Linked DNA regions of Homo sapiens: region 2 is linked to region 1. Evidence: promoter capture Hi-C in human tissues and cell types (Jung and others, 2019). All regions are on one chromosome and are shown on one strand. The core of a region is centred on a gene start or on the middle of the fragment in contact, and the rest is flanking DNA. Distances in the headings are between cores, read along the strand shown.

Region 1 (5,338 bases), core at 150-2,649:
AGCCGCTGATTCGCTGTATTGCTGGAGTCAGAGGCCCGTCGGGTCCCGATGGGTCGCCCCCATCGTCTGTCCAATATGGTTTGTTGCAACGCCTCCTTAAAGGGGCAGCCACACTGCTCTTCCTAAGCCTTAAAGAGACAGGACGGTCGATTGGTCTGAAATTCTTGAAGAGACAGGTAAGAATACTAGTTAGTAGGGCTGTGCTTTCTGTGTTAAATGTCTTCTGGGGAGGCCCAGATGCCTCACAAGTTCAGAACTTGACTGGGAGAAGCGGGAAAATGGAGAAATAGGGGCAATCCGTCCGGAGGGCGTGAAGTTCCAGCCAGGGGCGGGGCTTCTGGACTCCGGGGGAGCGGGAAACATAGGGGGAGGAGCTTGTGGTTCTCGAGGGCGGAGCCTCGGACCCAGGAGCCCCACACGCGTGGAGTGGTGCTGGGCACGGTGTAGCGTTTGTGGATCAAATGGGACTTGTAGATGCCCTCGGGGGTTTAGTCTCATGCGTGGGAAACCTCGATGACTTTCAGGAAGGGACCTGATCGGCGACTCCTCCCTGCCCCAGGGAGCGTGTAAACAGCGGCACGTGGACACAGATTTGGGGGACGCACCCACTTCCCTTCCCACTGGGGCCGCCCCGCGTTGGGCGGCGGTTGGAGCCGCGAGACGGTGGCTAGACAGGGTGACCCGACTGCATTCCTGGCCAGTGTGTCAGCGCCACTTCCCGCCCCCTCTGCCAAGATTTAGGATCCTACTCCAGAATTGGGGCACCCCTTCTCCCCAGGTGGGAGAGGCTTTCCAGAGCGGAGGGAGGGTCAAGGGGAAGGGGAAATGTTTCCCCTATCCAGGATCTCCAGACGGTTTCCTTCGCGTGGGCGAGAGAGACACCGGGGTGCAGCCCCTGCGGGCTCCAGGACTACAATTCCCACAGGACCCGAGGCAAAGAGTCGCCCGAGGGCGGTCGCGGAGGCTGCTGGGGGTTGTAGTCCAAACTAAGATTTTGAACTCTTGCTGGGACATCCTTTGAAGATCCAACCCGCGCTTTTTATCGACGGGGAGATTCGGGCTCAGAGACCCTGGGGGATACTGATCAGGAAAGGGGATAGTGCGCCTGAAGGGGTGGGGCAAGGGCTCAGGAGTCAGTCTCCAGCCACAGCGAGGCAGGCGTCTCGGCTCTTCTGTATCTCCCTGGCCTGGTCGCTCTCGGCTTCTGGGCCTCGCCCTTCCTGTCTGTGAAATGGACTCTGGGTGAATCCAAATGGGATCGTCTTGGGCTACGTCCTGTCCCTCCGGGACTACAAGTCCCAAGGTGCTCGAGGCGACCTTGGCTCCCCCTCCCCACCGGGACCCGCCTCCCTCCAGCCCAAGTCACGTCGTCTAACCTGTTCCCAGCTCCTGCCCCGCCCCGTTCTCCGCTCCCCAAGCCGGAGCCCGAGCTGGAGGAAGCCCCCAGGTGCCAGGATCTGCCCGGATCCGTGAGTTTCACCCTCCTGGGGACCAGAGGCCCTGAAAAAGCCCAACACCCGCGTCCCTGGGAGGATTGGGAGGGGACTCGGACGCCAGGTCCCAGGGCGGAATTTGGGGCGCGCCGACACCTGGATCCTTAGAAGGAAACTCCGTTGCCTGTTTTACTGGAGGGAAGGAAAGCGGGTTCGGATGCCTGAATTCTTGGAATGGAGGGATTCTACCCCTTCATCCCGGGGAGACGTTGGAGCTGGAATTCCTGAGTCCCTCGAACTGGGGGGCTCTAGGAAGCCGAGTCTTTGGGTAGTATAGGGGTTCGAATCCCCGAGTCTTGGTCAGAAATGAGAGGCTCAGACTGGTGGGGCTCAAGGTGGAATGGGTGACCACCCTGCCAGCCTCAAGCTGCTGTCTCGACCGATCTTCTAGGTCTCTGAGCAGAATTAAGGGTGGGGCAGGGATAGTGGAGCCTGGGTTCCTGAAGTGGAGCAGGACAGGTACCCGGGGTCCCTCCGGAGGCTGTGTCCCGGCTCTCCCCCGACTTTTCGGCTCGGGGATGGGGGCGGGGTAGGAGAGAAAACACCGAGGCAGATCTCCAACCTCCTCTGTGCCGCTGAGCGAACCCAACATGTCATTAACCTGGGCGTCAGACCTGCCTAACCAGAGAAGGGACATCCGCCCTAGGGCACCCCCTGGCGGAGGTGGGCTCCCCTATTGCCTTATGGGGTGGGAAACAGCTGGGTTTGCAGAGGTAGTTCTAGAACCCAGGGCAGAATTCCGGAAAGCGGCTATTGGATTCTGGGAGGTTTGCATAGCCGGGCATTTAACCATTACACGGAGAGGAAGGGGTAAACTGAGGCTTGGAGCTCACACAGGCAGTAGAGTTTGTAGGGTCAGGATTCTGCCTCCTCCTTCTTCTGCAGCTCTCTGGGGGACGGGATTCCATCCGCCCCCGCCAGATTTTCTGACTAACCTTCTGCCTCAGGGCTCCTTGCCCTGACCCTGAGGTGAGAAATGTCACCTCCACGCCCATCTGTCTGACCTGGGGTATTGTGGGAGATAAGGGAGGGACAGAGGCTAATTCTGGAGGTGTCTGTCTGTCCTTGAGGCGGGGGGAGGGCAGGACCAGGCACCTCCCTCTGTCTATCTCCCCGTTCTCTCCACCCCCATGCGTCCTAAGAAGGGGGATTAAAAACAGAATGGGGGAGGCGAGCATCTGATGAGAGAGGAGTGTTTCCCAATGTCTGGGCTTGAAGGGCATTTGATGATAACCTGAAATGAAATTAAAAATAATAACCGTGGTTGCCAAAACAGGGCTCTGGGTGTACCAAGCTCAGAGCTGGTAGGTAGGTAGGTAGGAAAGCTCGCATTGTCTAGAGGAATCTTGGGTGACTGAGAGGTCTCCCTTTGAATAAGGTTTGCTGACCCCAGGGAAGGACTCCTCATTACGAGTGGAGAAACGGAGGCTGGAGAGTGGATATTGCCCACACCCTGGGCTTTTGCCAGCTTCTGTCTGGAATCTTCCAGGGCTCTCCCAGCCCTCCCGTCCCTAAGTGACTGAGGGTGATCACTGGCCAGACTCAGGAATGTACAGGGGAAATTTAGGACTCTGAGAGGCAAGGGCTCAGGAAGTTGAGACCCTGGGTGTCAAAACTCAGGGCTTGTATGATCTCAGAAAGAGTTGAAAGGGCCCTTTTAGGGGAAAAAAAAATTACATTGAGTCTGGACCCCTCACTCTGTTGCCAGACCCTGTGTTATTATAATGAACAGCCAAGGACATCTGGTAATTATGAATCCTGTATGTGTGAACTTTATTTCGCGCACTGCATTGTTCTAATCACGGCTTATAAATTATGTCACTCAATCCTCATACCCCTTTGAGGCGAAGGTATTAATTCTTCCCATGGTCCACATGAGGAAACAGGCACAGAGAAGCTAAATAACAAGCCCAAGTAGAGGCTTAGAGCAAGAAAGGCCCTAGCCCATTCCATAGACGTCCACAAAGGAGGAAACCGAGTCCCAGAGACAGTGGAGCCTCTCCAGATTCAGTGTGACCCGACAGGGCTGTAGGAGTCCAGCCTGGGTGTTCCCAGCTCAGTCTGGCTCTCTGACCCGGTTCCTACTGAAGATGACTCCTCCAGGAAGTCCACAGGATCCTTAGCCCTAAAGAACCTGGCTGGGGTGCAGAGGAGGCCAGGGAAGGAGAGCCAGGGGTGGAGCGGAGAGAGGAGCCCAGGGGAGAGTACCTGCGGCTGGCCCAGAGCCCGCGGGAGAGCTCGGAGCTAGAGCTAGAGGGGAGCACATGGGAGAGGACTCGGAGGCAGAGGTCAGGGGCAGAGGCCTGGGAACAGACACACGGCCCGCGCCACCCCCGCGCCCCGCCCTTGTACCCCGCCCGGCCCAGCTCCCTTGCCCCGGGATGTACAGCACCTGCCCGGGCCCGCTGCGCATTCCCCGGGCCTGAGCTCAGGCGCAGTCCGCCCTCCTGGCGGGGGTCCGGGCGTGACCGCCCCCTGGTGGCTCCGACGTCCCCACCGCCTGTCCCCGCGACAGCCCCACACCCAGGGTTGGCATTTCCTGAGAGCCAGAGAATGTCAGTATGGAATCTGAGAATCTTGGAAATTTGGGGATCATGGCGCCGTGGCTCACGCCTGTAATCCCAATACTTTGGGAGATCGAGCCGGGGAGGATCCCATGAGGCTAGGAGTTCGAGACCAGCCTAACCACAGGCGCGAGAGAGACTAAATCTCTACCAAAAGAAAAAAAAAGAGTCACTTACAGCTGGCATTAGGGCTGCACAGACTTGCTCATTTATCTATTTTAACAGTTAACAAAGTATTGTTTGTGTATCTCTGAAATTCTAAATGCCCGAGTTTTTATTCCTGTAGTCTCTTCTTCCTGAGGCCTCAATTCTCAGAGCTCTGAATTCTTCCTGCACCTTCTGACCAGGTGGATTCTTACAGTAGTCCTATGAGGTGAACTTTCATCCCCATTTTACGGATTACGAGACTGAGGTACTGTGGTCAGGGTTGGACGGTGGTGCTGCCAGATTTGATGATTTTATTTTAATTTTTTTTAAGAAATGGGGTCTCATTGTGTTGGCCATGTTGGTCTTGAACTCCTGGCCTCAAGTGATCCTCCCCCCTCGGCCTCCCAAAGTGCAAGGATTACAGGCAGAAGCTACCATGCCCGGCCCTCAGATTTGAATTTTTGAAGTCTGACTTCTTACTCATGCTTTTACCAGCTGCACTATACCATCCATCTAGACTTCCAGAGCAGTGCAACCCTGGGTTAGGTAGAATGTGGTACAGAAAGACTCAGAATTCTGGGTTAGACAAATTGGAGAATTCTAGAATGTTCCAAAGATAGAATCTTGGACTCAGAACTTTCCAACAATAGGCTCTTTAGCTGAGGGGTTTAGGCTCTGTAGAACTTTAGTTACAGTCCTAAGGTCCTTACAGTTTGAAAGTCTGGGGCTCATAGAGATTAAAGGGGCCTTTCAGAATAGCTGATTTGGCCAGGTGTGGTGGCTCATGCCTGTAATCTCAGCACTTTGGGAGGCTGAGGCGGGAGGATTGCTTGAGCCCAGGAGTTCAAAACCAGCCTGAGCAACAAAGTGAGACCCCTGTCTCTACAAATTTTTTTTTTTTTTTTTTTTGGGACGGAGTCTCGCTCTGTCTCCGAGGCTGGAGTGCAGTGGCGCGATCTCGGCTCACTGAAAGCTCCGCCTCCCTGGTTCACACCATTCTCCTGCCTCAGCCTCCCGAGTAGCTGGGACTACAGGCGCCCGCCACCACGCCCAGCTAATTTTTTTGTATTTTTTAGTAGAGACAGGGTTTCACCGTGTTAGCCAGGATGGTCTCGAGCTCCTGACCTCGTGATC
Region 2 (5,338 bases), core at 808-3,307, 430 kb after region 1:
GCCACCGTTTGCCAGTGTGTGGGGGTAGCTGGCACTGCCCTGGTCTGCATGCAGACCCTTGACTCTAAATCCTGCAGGAGCTCCTGGTGACCACAGGGCTGCAGGGGCTGACTCTTGACTCAGACTGGGAAACCTGCCATCCAGCCCCCTGGGATCCCCCGAGAGGAGACTAAGAATCTGGAACCCCTTCAGTGTGCAGATGGATGAATTAAAAGAAAAAAGAAATAAAGAAAAAATAATAAACATAAAATTTTTAAAAGAAAGAATCTGGAATCCTAGCGCTTCAAAAGCACAGAACCGGGGATGGTTAATGGCTACAAAAAATAGAATGAACGAGGACGGGCGCGGCGGCTCATGCCTGTAATCCCAGCACTTTGGGAGGCCAAGGCGGGCGGATCACGAGGTCAGGAGATTGAGACCATCCTGGCTAACATGGTGAAACCCTGTCTCTACTAAAAAATACAAAAAAATTAGCTGGGCATGGTGGCGGGCGCCTGTAGTCCCAGCTACTCCGGAGGCTGAGGCAGGAGAATGGTGTGAACCCAGGAGGCAGAGGTTGCAGTGAGCCAAGATCGCGCCACTGCACTCCAGCCTGGGCAACAGAGCGAGACTCCATCTCAAAAAAAAAAAGAATGAATGAGATCTAGTATTTGGTAGCAAAACACGGCAACTCTAGTCAATAGTAATTTAATTACACATTTTAAAATAACTTAAGAAGTATAGAGGCCAGGCACAGTGGCTCATGCCTGTAACTTTGGGAGGCTGAAGTGGGCAAATCACGAGGTCAAGAAATCGAGATCATCGTGGCCAACATGGTGAAACCCTGTCTCTACTAAAAATACAAAAATTAACTGGGCCTGGTGGTGCGTGCCTCTAGTCCCATCTACTTGGGAGGCTGAGGCAGGAGAATCACTTGAACCCGGGAGGCGTAGGTTGCAGTGAGCCGAGATTGCGCCACTGCCCTCCAGCCTTGCAACAGAGTGAGACTCCATCTCAAAAAAAAAAAAAAAAAAAAAAGTATAATTGGGTCAGGTGTAGCAGCTCATGCTTGTAATCCCAGCACTTTGGGAAGCTGAGGCAGGCGGATTGCTTGAGCTCAAAAGTTTGAGACCAGCCTGGGCAACATGATGAAATCCCGTCTCTACAAAAAATATAAAAATTAGCTGGGCATGGTGGCCCATGCCTGTAGTCCCAGCTACTTGGGGGACTGAGGTGAGAGAGTCACTTGAGCCCTGACGGTCAAGGCTGCAGTGAGACGTGATTGCGCCACTGCACTCCAGCCTGGGAGATAGAGAGCTTGTCCCAAAAAAATTAATCAATTAATTAATTAAATTTTTTAAAAAAGAAAAGGAAAAGAACCGAAGGCACAGAAGCTTAGAAAGAGCAACATTTCTGAACTTTTGGAGAATTTTTGGAGAAGCAGATAGTAAGTGATACGTTAGTTCCAATTTTAGTAACAGTGGGCTTAATTATTCAGACCAACCCTCTCACTGGAAAAAATTGGAAAAGCTTGATAAAATTAATACACTAAGAAAATATCAATATATTTTATATTTGTAATTATACATATTGATAGAATGAGAATATATGCTGCTCACGTATTCTCGTATTTGTTCTCATGCATGTAATTTTTATCAAGTTTACATATGAATATATATAAATAGACAGCTCTGAAGAATGGACACGACTGTAGGTTACCAAACCTTCAGGCAAAAACTGAAGGGAAAGTGGGAATCCTAAAGTAGTAAAGGATCGGCCGGGCGCGGTGGCTCAAGCCTGTAATCCCAGCACTTTGGGAGGCCGAGGTGGGTGGATCACCTGAGGTCAGGAGTTCAAGACCAGCCTGGCCAACATGGTGAAACCCCATCTCTACTAAAAATACAAAAATTAGCCAGGAGTGGTGGTGCATGCCTGTAATCCCAGCTATTCGGGAAGCTGGGGCAGGAGAATCGCTTGAACCCAGGAGAAGGAGGTTGCAGTGAACCGAGATCGTGCCATGGCACTCCAGCCTGGGCAACAAGAGCAAAAAGTCCATCTCAAGGAAAAAAAAAAAAAGAAGTAAAGGATCTTGGATTTGCAGGTCTAGGGGAAAAAAAAAAAAAGAATAAGTAAAGGAGCCCTATAAGCTTCTTCATGTGTCCGAGGACATCTGCTAGGTGTTTTGGTGGGTGACAAAAATGCTGGCCTAGGCTGGGCGCGGTGGCTCACACCTGTAACCCCAGCACGCTGGGAGGCTGAGGTAGGTGGATTGCTTGAGCCCAGGAGTTTGAGACCAGCCTGGGCAACACACAGTTTCTACAAAAAATACAAAAATTAGCCAGGCATGGCAGCACGCACCATGCCTATATTCCCAGCTACTCAGGAGGCTGAGGTGGGAGAATCACCTGAGCCCAGGAGGTCGAGGCTGCAGTGAACCACGATCATGCCACTGCACTCCAGCCTGGGCAACAGAGTGAGACCCTGTCTCAAAAAAAAAAAAAAAAATGCTAGCCCAGGGCACATACAACATATGAGGTAACCAGAGACCTACCCTATAGGAAACTAAGACCCCACAAGGTGCAAGCCTCCACCCCTGAGAAGGAAGGAACCAGGTGGCCTACCCATTCCCAGGAGTTGCACAACAGGTATGCAGGGCGAAGTATGCAAGGCCACTCGTGGGATAAGGAGTCACGAAGGGCAGCTCAAGCCCTGAACCTGGTGCAAGGAAACCTAGGACTTGGTAATGCCCCCAGGCAGAAGCAAAGGCAATCCTCTCTGTAGGAAAATATGCTCATCCTAGCCCTGAAATTCCTACAAATAACTTTTCAAGTATAATGACTAGGACACAGACAGAGATAAGCCAGGCACAAAAGGAAACGACATTATGAGCGAGAATCAGCAGCAACAACAGATACCAAAACCAAAACGAGGCTGGGCGTGGTGGCTTACACCTATAATCCCAGCACTTTGGGAAGCCAACACTTGAGGTCAGGAGTTCGAGACCAACCTGGCCAACATGGTGAAACCCCATCTCTACTAAAAATACAAAAATTAGCCGGGCGTGGTGGCGGGCGCCTGTAATCCCAGCTACTTGGTAGGCGGAGGCAAAAGAATCGCTTGAACCTGGGAGGTGGAGGTCGCAGTGAGCCGAGATCATGCCACTGGACTCCAGTCTGGGTGACAGAGTAAGACTCCATCTCAAAAAAAAAAAAAAAAAAGTGTCCTTAAAGAGAAGAAATATTCCTTCTTGATTTATTCTTCTCTCCTGTTGCCTGGAGTGTGGATGTGATGGCTGAATCTTCAGCAGCTGTCTTGGGCTATGAGGATAAAGGGAAAAACCTAGCAATGGCACAACAAACAGCAAGGAGTCTGGGTCACTGAAGACTGCAGAATCCTAGTCTGCCTCCATCCAGACTGGTATATCAGAGAGAAATGAACCTGTACTGTGTTAATGGAGGTTTCTCAGCTGCATGCAGCCATGTGATTAAATGATTCAAGTACTTATTAATTATAGGTATGATAACCATACAGCAGAAGAGGTTATGAGCCCAGCCTCTAAACTACAGTATCTTCATCTGAAGCCCAGCTCTGCTACTTACTGTGACCTCAGTGGTCAACTTCAATGGTTGAAATGGGGATAATAACAGTGCCTACTCTCATAGGGTAGTTTATAAGCATTAAACACATTAAATTATATATATGTTTATATAGCGTGTATATACATCTGACACACGCACACGTACCTCAGAATGGAGCCTGGTGCATACCCAGTAAGTGACTGAGAAGTGTTAGCTATTACTGTTATTTTAATCATAGGAAAAAGGCATACAAAAAACTTTGGAGCAGAAAAACACTATGAGTAAATTCTAGTGTGGGTGGGGTGCCTCCCTGCTGAGCCCTGATCAGGGGCAGGATCAGGCACAGGAACTTGCCTCTGCCTGTAGAAGCCACAAGGCCCTGGGGTCCAGGGTCTTAGGGGCCACGGTCCAGCTGAGCCATCGCTACCTCCCCATGAAGTCCCTGATATGCACGTCTGGGGAAGGTCTGGACCTGGCAATCTCTGGGGATACCGATGCCTCCAGCAGAGGCTCTCATTTTAGTAAACACACCAGGGGAGAGTGTAGAAGCAGTGATGCCCCCAGGCAGCTCTGCCCCTGGCTTAGTGTGTGGCTGTGGGGGTCCTAACCCCTCTGGGCTTCTAGATCCCCATGTATAAAACAAGGCCAGGCCTTTTTGGATTCCAGATCCCCAGTCCCCTGAAGAACGTCCTGTGTGTATCCACACGCCCACAGTTCTGTGGACCCTCTCAGAGGGCTCATGGCCATGGCCCCTCATCCATGCACCCAGGCCTGCAGGAGACTGGACCTTTCTAATGCTTCCTGATGTACTTGAGTAAGCAAAGAAAACAGACATTAAATCCTTTCTCCCACCCAAATAGGTATTCTACAGTCACAGGTTCAGAACATTTTTAAATATATGAAAAGACGTATAATCAAAACTCTCCCTCCCACCCCATTCCTTTATATACCCAGTTCCTGCTCCACCTCCCACTCCAGGTAACCACATGTGCTCAAAAACACAGACGCCACCCGCTATCTAGAAAGGCTATTCCCACATAATCAGCTTCAAGCTACAAGGAGTTCATGGGCCCCTGAAAACAAACCCTGGATCCCATTTTAAGAACTGCAGCCAAGATGGTCTCCGAGCACCCACCCGAACTGATGTTTGATGCTGCCTAGTTCTAAGAAAGGAAATTAGCCTACAGTGTGACTTGTATTAAAAATGTCTCTCTGAAGGAAGCTCCCTATGCACTGACGTGGAAAGATTTCAAAGATATATTGTTAATGAAAAAAATCAAGGAGCAGAACAGTGTGTAAAACAGGCTACCTCTTATGTAAAAATGAAGGGAAAGATAAAAATAATTTTCATGCAGAGCTGCTTGCAGCATGAAAAAAAAGAAGGTGATATATAAGAAAATCTGAAGTCTTTACGTGGCCATGGGGAGGGGAGGTGAAGTGGAGACGGTAAGGGACAGGGGCGCATGACTGAGAAGCGTAGGGCACATGGCAGGAATTTTTGAGGCACACATGTCAGTTTTGCAACTTAACAGAGTGGGGAGGTTTCTTTCCTGCAGTTTCTCAGTGTCCTGTGTGACACTCTTGGAGGACACCAGGCAGGCAGTTCTGCTCTAGTCTAGAATGTGATCAGTGACTACATCAGGGATCATGAGTTGTTTTTTTTTTTTTTTGGGACAGAGTTTCACTCTTGTTGCCCAGGCTGGAGTAAAATGGCATGATCTCGGCTCACTGCAACCTCCGCCTCCCGGGTTCAAGCGATTCTCCTGCCTCAGCCTCCTGAA

The links. Contacts are between HindIII fragments. The study calls those that stand out against the background at their distance.
Region 2: a fragment that was not itself captured here is called in contact with the fragment with the promoter of PPP1R13L in region 1 in 2 of the 25 tissues and cell types used here (IMR-90 fibroblasts and dorsolateral prefrontal cortex).

The regions. Positions count from the first base shown.
Region 1 is chr19:45,401,130-45,406,467 of GRCh38, reverse strand. It overlaps PPP1R13L (protein phosphatase 1 regulatory subunit 13 like), which reads left to right and starts at 1,399. Exons shown (of 13, transcript NM_006663.4): 1 at 1,399-1,469. RefSeq lists enhancers at 548-747, 718-1,513 and silencers at 3,673-3,762, 3,803-4,052. The HindIII fragment of the contact is 18,212 bases long and covers 1-5,338 here.
Region 2 is chr19:44,967,547-44,972,884 of GRCh38, reverse strand. The region is part of intron 2 of CLPTM1 (CLPTM1 regulator of GABA type A receptor forward trafficking); the gene reads right to left. Among named protein-coding and RNA genes, the nearest start is that of CLPTM1, 15 kb to the right of the region's middle. The HindIII fragment of the contact is 6,156 bases long and covers 1-5,135 here.